4 separate regions of the Homo sapiens genome follow, and all the other regions are linked to region 3. Evidence: promoter capture Hi-C in 16 types of primary human blood cells and fetal thymus (Javierre and others, 2016). All regions are on one chromosome and are shown on one strand. Each heading gives the region's core, a stretch centred on a gene start or on the middle of the fragment in contact. The rest is flanking DNA. Distances are from core to core; before and after follow the strand shown.

The links. Contacts are between HindIII fragments. The CHiCAGO score rates a contact against its expected background, and 5 or more counts as called.
Region 1: a fragment that was not itself captured here is called in contact with the fragment with the promoter of CRTC3-AS1 in region 3 in 1 of 17 cell types (activated CD4 T cells); the score reaches 5.2 in activated CD4 T cells.
Region 2: a contact is called between a fragment that was not itself captured here and the fragment with the promoter of CRTC3-AS1 in region 3, in 7 of 17 cell types (megakaryocytes, endothelial precursors, total B cells and 4 more). The highest score is 5.8, in megakaryocytes.
Region 4: a contact is called between a fragment that was not itself captured here and the fragment with the promoter of CRTC3-AS1 in region 3, in 7 of 17 cell types (fetal thymus, naive CD4 T cells, activated CD4 T cells and 4 more). The highest score is 9.2, in fetal thymus.

The regions. Positions count from the first base shown.
Region 1 is chr15:90,483,658-90,486,432 of GRCh38, forward strand. IQGAP1 (IQ motif containing GTPase activating protein 1) reads left to right here. Exons shown (of 38, transcript NM_003870.4): 30 at 563-695; 31 at 2,373-2,475. Among named protein-coding and RNA genes, the nearest start is that of CRTC3, 45 kb to the right of the region's middle. The HindIII fragment of the contact is 7,118 bases long and covers 1-2,775 here.
Region 2 is chr15:90,926,474-90,929,173 of GRCh38, forward strand. No RefSeq gene overlaps it. Among named protein-coding and RNA genes, the nearest start is that of HDDC3, 4.7 kb to the right of the region's middle. The HindIII fragment of the contact is 3,766 bases long and covers 1-2,700 here.
Region 3 is chr15:90,715,755-90,718,545 of GRCh38, forward strand. CRTC3-AS1 (CRTC3 antisense RNA 1) reads right to left here and starts at 1,386. Exons shown (of 4, transcript NR_120372.1): 1 at 1,227-1,386. BLM (BLM RecQ like helicase) reads left to right here and starts at 1,592. Exons shown (of 22, transcript NM_000057.4): 1 at 1,592-1,686. The HindIII fragment of the contact is 2,609 bases long and covers 1-1,586 here.
Region 4 is chr15:90,560,307-90,563,006 of GRCh38, forward strand. The region is part of intron 2 of CRTC3 (CREB regulated transcription coactivator 3); the gene reads left to right. Among named protein-coding and RNA genes, the nearest start is that of CRTC3, 32 kb to the left of the region's middle. RefSeq lists an enhancer at 2,575-2,700. The HindIII fragment of the contact is 514 bases long and covers 1,049-1,562 here.

The DNA.
Region 1 (2,775 bases), core at 220-2,719, 230 kb before region 3:
ATAAGATTAAAAACCACCTCTCACTTTCCCCGGACTGCCATATGTAGAAGACGTGTTTGATGTGCCCAGGATTCCAGAAGATGATCCATTTACTTTGAAGAGAATTTTCATATGAAATAGATAGTAGTTAACACTTATGAAATAGATAGTAGTTAACATAAAAATAATGATGATTATGCATTTAGTACATGTTACCTTGTAATCAGAGAAGAATTGGAGAATGCTTTTAATTTTTGTAAATTAACATCTAGTTTTGAATTCAGTGCTTCAGAGCACTGTCTTAGAGATAGAATTGGTTCTCCTAATGGTGTCTGGAAACTTTTAAGTCATGGTGCAATGGTTCTTATGGGTAAAACTAAAACTACAAACTAGGTGGAGAAAGAAGTTATTCGAACCACTATCCCAAGGTTGTCAAGCACAGCAAACACACAGCACTTTCTCTTGAAGTAACTGTTGACTGGCTTCTGTTTGCACTCATTGTGTGAGAGGTTTGTGAAATGTCCTCTTGCCAACTTCATGTGTATGTCCCTTTTTGGGGGGCTGCCTCCTGTGCTTATTTCAGACGGTTTTTCCAAACTGCTTGTGATGTCCCAGAGCTTCAGGATAAATTTAATGTGGATGAGTACTCTGATTTAGTAACCCTCACCAAACCAGTAATCTACATTTCCATTGGTGAAATCATCAACACCCACACTGTAAGTATTTTTCTTTAATTACTTAATTTCATTGTCCTTAATTATTATCCCTGGCTGCTGCTTATCATCTCTGGTAGCCAGGTGTCTAACCTTCCTGTAATCTAACTGACAATGCATCTCCTTGATGTCTCTTTTTTTGCTTGTTATTCTTTTTTGTTTATTTATTTATTTTTTGAGACAGAGTCTCACTGTGTTGCCCAGGCTGGAGTGCAGTGGCGCGATCTCGGCTCACTGCAAGCTCCACCTCCTGGGTTCACACCATTCTCCTGCCTCAGCCTCCCGAGTAGCTGGGACTACAGGCACCCGCCACCGTGCCTGGCTAAATTTTTTGAATTTTTGGTAGAGACGGGGTTTCACTGTGTTAGCCAGCATGGTGTCGATATCCTGACCTCATGATCTGCCCACCTCGGCCCCCAAAAGTGCTGGGATTACAGGCGTGAGCCACCACGCCTGGCCTTTTGCTTGTTATTCTTAACAGTATCTACTGCTAAGTTTCTAAAAGGTCTTCCCAGGCCACCTGCATCAGAATCCTATGGGCTGATAGTTAAAAATGAAGTTTCCTGGACACCGCCCCAGGCCTACTGAATCAAAATCCCACTAAATTTATCTATTGCCTTAATAAAATAGTGCTTTTACTCTTCTTTCTTTTTACCCTAGCTCTCTGCGTTATTTTTCTAACATGATCTAGAATACTAGCTTTCTCTGTGTAGCCTTGGAGTGGATTTTTCCCTTGGAAGCTGGAGCTCCATGTTTCTTCAGATTTTTCAAATCATTTTTTCCCCTCTGGGGACATGGACATGTAAAACAGGAACAAGGGCATATGTTAAAATGTAAATGAAATTTCAGGTTACTGTCATTTCTGAGGGCATCACTGGGGATAATGGCACCTTGAAGACTTTGTTGAGTGCCCCTACAATAATTATAACATTGATTTGGTATACTTTTCTCTGAATTAAATCATGTCATACACTGGAAACATTAAGTAAAAGCGTGCACGTGACTTATTTGAACTGGCAGTAGGGTACATTGATGACTTTGGGTATTGAACTTTGAGTTTCAGTGTTTTGTGGGTTTTTTGTGTTTGTTTGTTTTGTTTTGTTTTTTTGAGATGGAGTCTTGCTCTGTCACTCAGGCTGGAGTGCAATGGCGCAATCTTGGCTCACTGCAACCTCCACCTACTGGGTTCAAGCAATTCTTCTGCATCAGCCTCCCTAGTAGCTGGGATTACAGGCACACACCAGCACGCCCAGCTAATTTTTGTATTTTTAGTAGAGACAGGGTTTCATCATGTTGTCCAGGCTGGTCTTGAACGCCTGACCTCAGGTGATCCACCCGCCTTGGCTTCCCAAAATGCTAGAATTACAGACGTGAGCCACTGCACCCAGCCAGTGTTCTTTCTCAAACAGGGCACATTTGAATCCTTTATGGCCATGAGGTTAAGAGAATACCAGTATTTCCTCTTCTTATATCATAACATAAGTCATTCAACAGAGCCTGGTGTGGTGCCTTATATATCATATTGTTTATTTGGGTTAGTTTGCTGAGGATTTGCTTGTTGTTTCTTTGAATATAGGAACTTTGTTGGAACCTCTTTGTGCAGATCATTGTTAGACATTCTAGGGAGGGACGGGCTGAAGAGTTGAATGTATAAATGGAGTTGATCATTGGTGTTTGCAGCTCCTGTTGGATCACCAGGATGCCATTGCTCCGGAGCACAATGATCCAATCCACGAACTGCTGGACGACCTCGGCGAGGTGCCCACCATCGAGTCCCTGATAGGTAGAGTTCTAACTTTTGCCTGGAAGATCAAAAGGGAATGTGACAGAAAAGTGTTGTAATTGTCACCTCCTCTATTTTTTGCACTATACCAAACTCTGGATATACATTGAGAAATAAAATAGATGTGATCCTGATAGTTTCATAAGAGAGAAAACAACAACAACAACAAAAGCCCAGATGTGATCAATATCTATAAGGAACTGGAGTCAGAGGAAAAGATCATTTTAAACGCAGATACATACTGCCAGCTTGTGTTTTTTTAAAAAAATTGCAGATACATAAATTAAAAGTCCTCTAAAG
Region 2 (2,700 bases), core at 2-2,501, 210 kb after region 3:
TACTTGGGAGGCTGAGGCAGGAGAATGGCATGAACCCGGAGGCAGAGGTTTTAGTGAGCCGAGATCGCGCCACTGCACTCCAGCCTGGGCGACAGAGTGAGACTCCGTCTCAAAACAACAACAACAACAACAAACAAACAAATAAATAAATAAACAGGCCAGGTGCAGTGGCTCATGTCTATAATCCCAGTACTTTGGGAGGCCAACGTGGGCAGATCACTTGAGGTCAGGAGTTTGAGACTAGCCTGGCCAACGTGGTGAAACCCTGTCTCTACTAAAAATACAAAAAAACCCAAAAACCAGAAAAATCAAAATGTAGCGGGGCATGCTGGTGTGTGCCTATAGCCTGTAATCCCAGCTACTTGGAAGGCTGAGGCAGAAGAATCGCTTGAACCTGGGAGATGGAGGTTGCAAATAGCCAAGATCATGCCACTGCACTTCATCCTGAGCGACAGAGCACGACTCCGTCTCAAAAAAATTAAAACAATTTAAAAAACCTCGTGTAGATATATTGCAAATTACGTAAGATAAAACCTAAAGGCCAGGCACGGTGGCTCACGCCTGTAATTCCAGCACTTTGGGAGGCCAAGGTGGGTGGATCACCTGAGGTCAGGAGTTTGAGATCGGCCTGGCCCACATGGCAAAACCCTGTCTGTACTAAAAATACAAAAATTAGCTGGGCTGGTGGCATGCGCCTGTAGTCAAAGCTACTCAGGAGGCTGAGGCAGAAGAATAGCTTAAACCAGGGAGGTGGAGGTTGCAGTTAGCTGAGATCATGCCACTGCACTCCAGCCTTGGCAATAGAGTGAGTGGGATTCACTCTCAAAAGAGAAAGGCAAATATAAGAACTTATTGAGAAACTGCAGGAATGAATATAACCTGTTGTACAACCATGGTTTAACTGTAGATTTTTAGCCTAGCTTTTTTTTTTTTTTTTTTTTTTTTGAGACGGAGTCTAGCTCTGTCGCCCAAGCTGGAGTGCAGTGGCGTGATCTCGGCTCACTGCAACCTCTGCCTCCCAGGTTCAAGTGATTCTCCTGCCTCAGCCTCCCAAGTAGCTGGGACTAAAGGCGCCCGCCACCACGCCTGGCTAATTTTTTGTAGTTTTAGTAGAGACAGGGTTTCACCGTGTTAGCCAGGATGGTCTTGATCTCCTGACCTCATGATCCACCCGCCTCGGCCTCCCAAAGTGTTGGGATTACAGGCGTGAGCCACCACACTGGCCTTTTTTTTTTTTTTTTTTTTTGAGACGGAGTCTTGCTCTGTCTCCCAGGCTGGAGTGCAGTGGCATGACCTTGGCTCACTGCAACCTCCGCCTCCTGGGTTCAAGTGATTCTCCTGCCTCAGCCTCCCGAGTAGCTGGGACTACAGGTGCCCGCCACCATGCCCGGCTAATTTTTTTGTATTTTTAGTAGAGACGGGGTTTCACCATGTTAGCCAGGATGGTCTCGATCTCCTGACTTCGTGATCCACCCGCCTGGGCCTCCCAAATTGCTGGGATTACAGGCGTGAGCCTCTGCACCCAGCCTGCCTAGTGTGTTTCTTTGGAACTTATCAAAATGTCTCTGGAGGCCGGGCACGATGGCTTCATGCCTGTAATCCCAGCACTTTGGGAGGCCAAGGCAGGCGGATAACTTGAGGTCAGGAGTTTGAGACCAGCCTGGCCAGCATGGTGAAACCCTGTCTCTACTAGAAATACAAAAATTAGCCGGGCGTGGTGGCACACATCTGTAATCCCAGCTACTAGGGAGGCTGTGGCATAAGAATCGCTTGAACCCAGGAGGCAGAGGTTGCAGTGAGCCGAGATTGCGCCACTGTACTCCAGCCTGGGTGACAGAGCGAGAATCCATCTTAAAAAAAAAAAAAGGCTCTGGAACATTTCATTTCCTGTTTTGTTACTGACCTGTGACTCTGTAAAAGTCTACTTTCGCAATTTGGATTAATAATTTTATGAATGCAAATTGGAGATGCTGTTCAAAAAAAAAAAAATAGAAAAGTCTTACAAAGGAAAGACAATCACAGTGATAGCAGACATCTAGTTAGCTACAGTAGACACCTGGAGTCCATTCAAACCTAGAGAAAACTCAGCCTTGAATTTGCTATCAGCTACACCATTCAAGAGCACGGGGGAAATGAAGACATTTTCAGACATGCAAAGACTCAACAGTTTGCAATGTACAAAACTTTAGTGGAAGAAAGTAGGTGTACTTAAGCAAAAAGAGAATTTGTCTAGGGGCATAAACTAATGAGAGGGAGGGTACACCTAAATACTGGCTATAAATGTAATACTAGTTTATAGTTTAAAAAGAGGCAGGAACTAAAATTCTAGAAAGCAATATTGTGAAGAGTTATTCAAGGCTGGGCACAGTGGCTCACGCCTGTAATCCCAGCACTTTGGGAGGCTGAGGTGGGCAGATCACCTGAGGTCAGGAGTTCGAGACCAGTGTGGCCAACTTAGTGGAACGCCATCTCTACTAAAAAATAAAAAATAAAAAAATCCAAAAACAGGTACTAAGAGGACAGACCTTGCATCAAATGGTGCTAGGAAAACTGGACATCCACAAGCAAAACCATACATCATATATTTTGTATATGGTGTATATACAAAAAAATTACACCATATACAAAAATTAACCCAAAATGTTCTTGCCACAAAAACAACAAAAAATTGGGTAACTACGTGAAATGATGGATGTGTTA
Region 3 (2,791 bases), core at 136-2,635:
AAATTATTCTTCAACAGTAGTATACAGTTATATGAATAAGCTGCAATTTATCTATTCATCTATTGGTGGACATCTGGGTTTTTTCCCTTTGGCTATTATGAATAAAGCTGCTATGAGTCTTTTGGTGAATAAAGGCATTCATTTTTTGGGGTAAATATCTAGAAATGGGATTTCTGGGGTATAGGGTAGGGGTAAATTTGATTTCAGTAGAGACTGATGTTTCCAAAGTGGTTGTACCATTTTACACTCCCATCAACACTGTATGAGAGTCCCATTTCTGCATCTTTGCAACTAAGGGAATTGTCAGTCTTTTCATTTCAGCTATTCTATGGAGTGTTTAATAGTATCATATTTTGGTTTCAATTTACCATAGAAGATTTTCAGGAGGGAGGTAACTTGAACAGATTTTTACATTTTAGAAAACTCTTTCTGCGTATTATGTGGAGAATGATTATTTGTATACCAAAGTTCATAGCAGCATTATTCACAATAGCCAAAAGGTGGGAATAACCAAGCATCCATTTATATGGATGAATGGATAAACAAAATGTAGTATACATGTATAATGGAATATTATTTAGCCTCAAGAAGGAAGAAATTCTGATACATGCTACAACATAGATGCTCCTTGAAGACATTATGCTAAGTGAAATAAGCCAATCAGAAAAGAGCAATTATTGTATGATTCAATTTATATGCGGTACCTCGCACTTACAGACAGAAAGTGCAATATCGGCTATAAGGGGTTGTGAGAAACGGGTAACGGGGAGTTACTGTGTAACAGGCAGATTTTCTATTTGGGATAATGAAAAAGTTCTGGAGATGGATAGTGGTGATGGTTTCACAACAATGTGAATGTACTTAATGCCAGTGAACTGTACACTTAAAAATGGTGAATTTTATGTTAGATAGATTTTATCACACACACAAAGAGGAGGGAGGGCGGGAGGGAAGGAGAGAGGGAAGGAAGTAGAGAGGGGAGAAGAGAGGAAGAAAGGAAAGAAAGTAAGATCTGGCATCACAGGGCCCACATTCCCGCGTGTCAGCAATAGGCTGAAACAGAAGCATGGTTTCTCACGTGTCCATGGAGGCATCTGAGTGTGTGCCCACTTTCCCGGTTCAATGACAATTTGCACCTGCTCGTGTAGAGGGGTACGGGTGAAACAGAGACCAGTATTATTAAGGGGATGGAGAGGAGAGACCGCCAAAACATCGCAGAGACACACCGTCGGAACCAAGAGAATGGGGTGCAGACGCCTGGCTTGGCCTGTGGGAACTGGCAAGTCTCAGCTCTCAAACGCCCGGGCTTTTCAACCCGCCACAGCCGGGTTCCAGCTGCCTACTTCCTTTAAAGCCTTCACCGACTCTAAAACACCAAAAACAAAGACCCAACTAGCTCCGGAAGCCCGAGATGTAACCGTAGTCATCTGACCCTCCCGTCCGGACTCTGATTGGGCTTTGGAGATACGCGTCCCTCCCGGCGCTGTACGGCGACCCCGCCCCAGCAGCCTGAGGGGGCGGGAACAGATGTCCGAGTGCGACAGTATTGGTCGGCTTCCCCAGGAAGCAGCCAATCGGAATAGGCAAGCTTCCGGCGGGAAGTGAGCCAGGGCTTGGCGCGGCGGCCGTGGTTGCGGCGCGGGAAGTTTGGATCCTGGTTCCGTCCGCTAGGAGTCTGCGTGCGAGGTGAGTACCGCGCGCGTAACTACGGGTCGGTCCGCATTGATCTAGCCCTGCTCTGGCGGCCCGGCCCGGAGCTGGAGGCCGCTCGGGTTCTTCCGTTTCCTGCACTGGTTCGCCTCGGCCCGCTGAGTCCTCTAGTCTGGCCAACATCCTGGGAGGACAGCAGATACATAAATACGTTCCCAAATGGGGAAACAGAGGCCCGGGGCGGGGGCGAACTCTGCCAAGGTCTCCCGGGGCGTCGGAGGCCGAGCATGGGCTAGGACCTGGCATGTTGTTGCCCATATACTCCAGTGCGTAACATGATGCCCTGCACAGAGTAATCCCAGCCCAGACCTCTGGCACTACTACCTCCGTGTCCCTCCTGAGGAACAACGAAAACACTTTGTACTTTTTCTGTGGCCTTCCATAATCACGAGCTGGGCTACTCTTGTTTTTGAGTGTCTACTGTGTGCCATGTTCCTGGCACCCTTGATCTTACAACTGTAGCTTTACGATATCCCAGCAAAGCGAAGTGCTTAAGAATACTGCATCAGATTGCTTGGGTTCGAATTCTGGCTCCTTCACATTTAGCTCTGTGTCTACTGCACGTTACTGAAACACTAAGTGTCTTGGTTTTCGTCTGTCATATGGGGGAAATGGTCTCTTCTACTTCCTGGCGTTTTTGTTAGGATTAAACGACTTAATATATGCAATAATAAATGCTTCGAAGGCTACCTGTTACATAGTACACAGTAAGGGTTCTGTTATCATTACCCAGAGAAGCGGATGAAATTGTCCCCATTTTAGACATGGAGAATCTGAAGTACAAAGAGGTTGTCTCCGTACAGAAAGAGCATTTGGTGATTAAGTGCTAGAGATACAGGATTTGAACTAAGCGCCTGATTTTAAAGTATGTCCCACAACATTAGGCTTTCTCCTATAGCCCTCACCTGTCCTTAGGTCACACAGAACTTTAGGTACCTCATGGCGTGAGATGGAGCAGGTGACTGACAGCTCCTTGTGCCACCCATGCAGATAAATAACACTGGTGTGTCACTGTCAAGATTAAGGGACAGGAATTCGAGAGACTGCATGAGAGATCAGAAGATGAAGAAGCGGGTAGGCA
Region 4 (2,700 bases), core at 56-2,555, 160 kb before region 3:
TTGGTTCTACCAGATTCTTGAAAGAGAATGTGTTTTCTCAGAGCCAAGTAGACCCAAACATTTCCCAGACTTTGGCCACATAATCAGAAATTTCAAAAGAGTTCTGGAATTTGTGGGCTTAGCTCCAAGTTACCAGGCATCCGTTGTCTTCCCTGTGGGCAGAATTCGCTTTTAGCTTACTCCACCCTCCTCAGCTACGCAGCATGATTGGGGCAGACGATGAATACTTCAGATATCCCCTGTGGGGTTAACTCCAGAGGCAGCCTCAGAAACTAGACACATAATTCATATGGTCAAAACCTGGCAGGCTCTTCTGAAATCGTGTGACTTCCTATCAGGCCACCAGCTCTGCAGATCCTCAAAGGTCTGGCTGTCAGAACAATAGGGAATGAGAGCAGCGCCCAGATGCTGCCTGCTGGAGCTGCAGGTCCTGTTTGAGTCTGAACAATAAAAGTCCTGGAATGAATTACCAAGGCTCCTGATTGCACCCTGCAGGTTCAGGTTTAGTTTGTGGAGATGTCTCACATAAGAACTGTCTTGTAAGCCGCTTGGGGGGTTCAACAAAATTGGTCAACAAAATTTAATACCATACAAGCCCTTTTCTTGATCAAGCAATTTAGTAAGTCTCTGTCATAAGTCTCTATGACCTGCCATCCAATATGTCAAAATAAACAAAATTTTCATGTTGATGGTCACAAGTGCAGTCCCTAGAGTGGGGATCTGGTGACCACTTCCACCACTAACTAGCACTGGATCGTAGACAAGATCGTTAGTCTCTCTGTGTCTCAGCTCACTCATCTGCAAGATGTGGCTACTAATAGTACCTAAGATAGAGCTATTGGGAGGATTAAGTTAGGTAATGCATGTAAATCCTTAGAATAATGCCCAGCACAGTTGTTGTTCAATACATATTGCAAAGTTCCTAGTATAAACTCCCTGTTGCAGCCTTCTAATTTGACTTCAATAGATTGTTGGTACCATTTGCCTCTTTCTTTGCAGGTATCCTACCTAGGCCTAGAGAACTAAGCTTTTGCTGTTCATTATATGAAGCTTCTTAAATGTCATACAGGCTAGTTGCATCCTACTAATTCTTCACAGACTAGATAAAAATACTTTTGCTGAAGTCTTAATCGGCCTGTCCTGAAGTCAACCAGGCTGTATGTTAGTGCCTTGACTCAGTGCAGCTTTCAAGAGAGGCAGAAAGAATACCCACAGAGAAGGCACATGTGGGCGGTGGCAGTGTAGGACCAGGAAAGAAGCTAGGTCTCTATATTCCCTCGCATTTTGAATCTGTGTTAAATTCAATCATATTAGTATGAAGCAATCCTCTTACCTATCTCCTTAATCCAGCCTCTGACTGCCAGCTCACAAAAGAGGGAGAAGAGGCACTACATTTAAAGTAGTGATTATCTCTAACTAGAATTTTAAGTCCCTACATGTTTTGGCTGTAGAACCAGCCAAAGTTTTGTTCCAATTCCCTACAAAATTTCACAATAGTCAGGAGTTAGAATTGGTCCCTATGTTATGAAACAGCTAGTTTTTATACTTTAAACTTAAAATGAAGCTTTAGTTGTTTATTATTACTGTGGATATTTTCCAAGAGACAGAATAACATCTGTGGAAGATTCTACACAGGCCTTGATGCCAGACATTGTAATTATTTCCCTGCTCAAAGGCAATAGTCAGTGCCTCAAGGAACTCCCTGGCTATAAGCAGTTGGCTGCCTCGACAACAGATAGCTAATGTCTTAGCTCTTTTCTGTCTCTACCGCCAGCCTCTTGGGGATGTGACTTGAGAAAGCTCTCCCCTCCCCATTTTCTCCTGTAACCTCTTTGGAGGAAGTCACCAGGGTAACCACTTTCTTTTATGCTAGTTTTCTTGAGTGCAAGGGAAAACACTTCCCCACAGACATATGACAGAAGTTTAAGAGTGGTGAGGAGAAGAACACGAACAGTTACTGAGTACCTGAGCTATGCTTTGTGTACCTGATATCATTGAGTTCCCACATCAACCTTCTGAGATAGGCATTATCATCCCCATTTTACTGATGCTTAAACAGTAACATGCCCAAGGTCACACAAGTGGCAAGTGACAGTCAGGACTCAAACCCAGGTTTATCTTTCTCGGGCCTTTGCTCTTATTTTGCAAATTAAGCAAGTGTAGACACACAAAACCAATTTGTTTTTACCTAGGAAACGTGTTTTATGCTTTGTTTTTCTCAGTCTGGATAGATGCCGTTTTCTAGTCCCCTGGAACCATCGTATGCCCAGTTTAGTACCACTTTTGTTTGGTTTCTCGTCTTAGAATATATTCTGCTTATTCACTCCCCCGGCCACCTGAGAAATCTTTTTACTACTTTTAGTCCAAATCAAACTTTCCTTCCCTTGACTACCTAGGAAGTCTCTCCTTGGGTGAGTCTTAACTCGCCTGAACTGAGAGTCTCACCCTGGAACTTGGTTAAGAAAGGCCAGAGTTGGGAGGCAACAGCCTGGATGGAAGAGGGGGGTCAGTTGACACTGGAGGGGGCAAGCCAGACCAGCCGCAAGCAGGAGCCAAAAGGTCAGAAAGCCAGTGAGAATGGGGTGGGCCAACAGGAGCAGACCAGGCCACACAGGCTGTGACTCCCCCTTGCAGTGGCTGCTGGGCACTGGCCATGCCTGTGCTTGTCTCTCTCAGTATCTCTTACTCTGCCATCTTGTC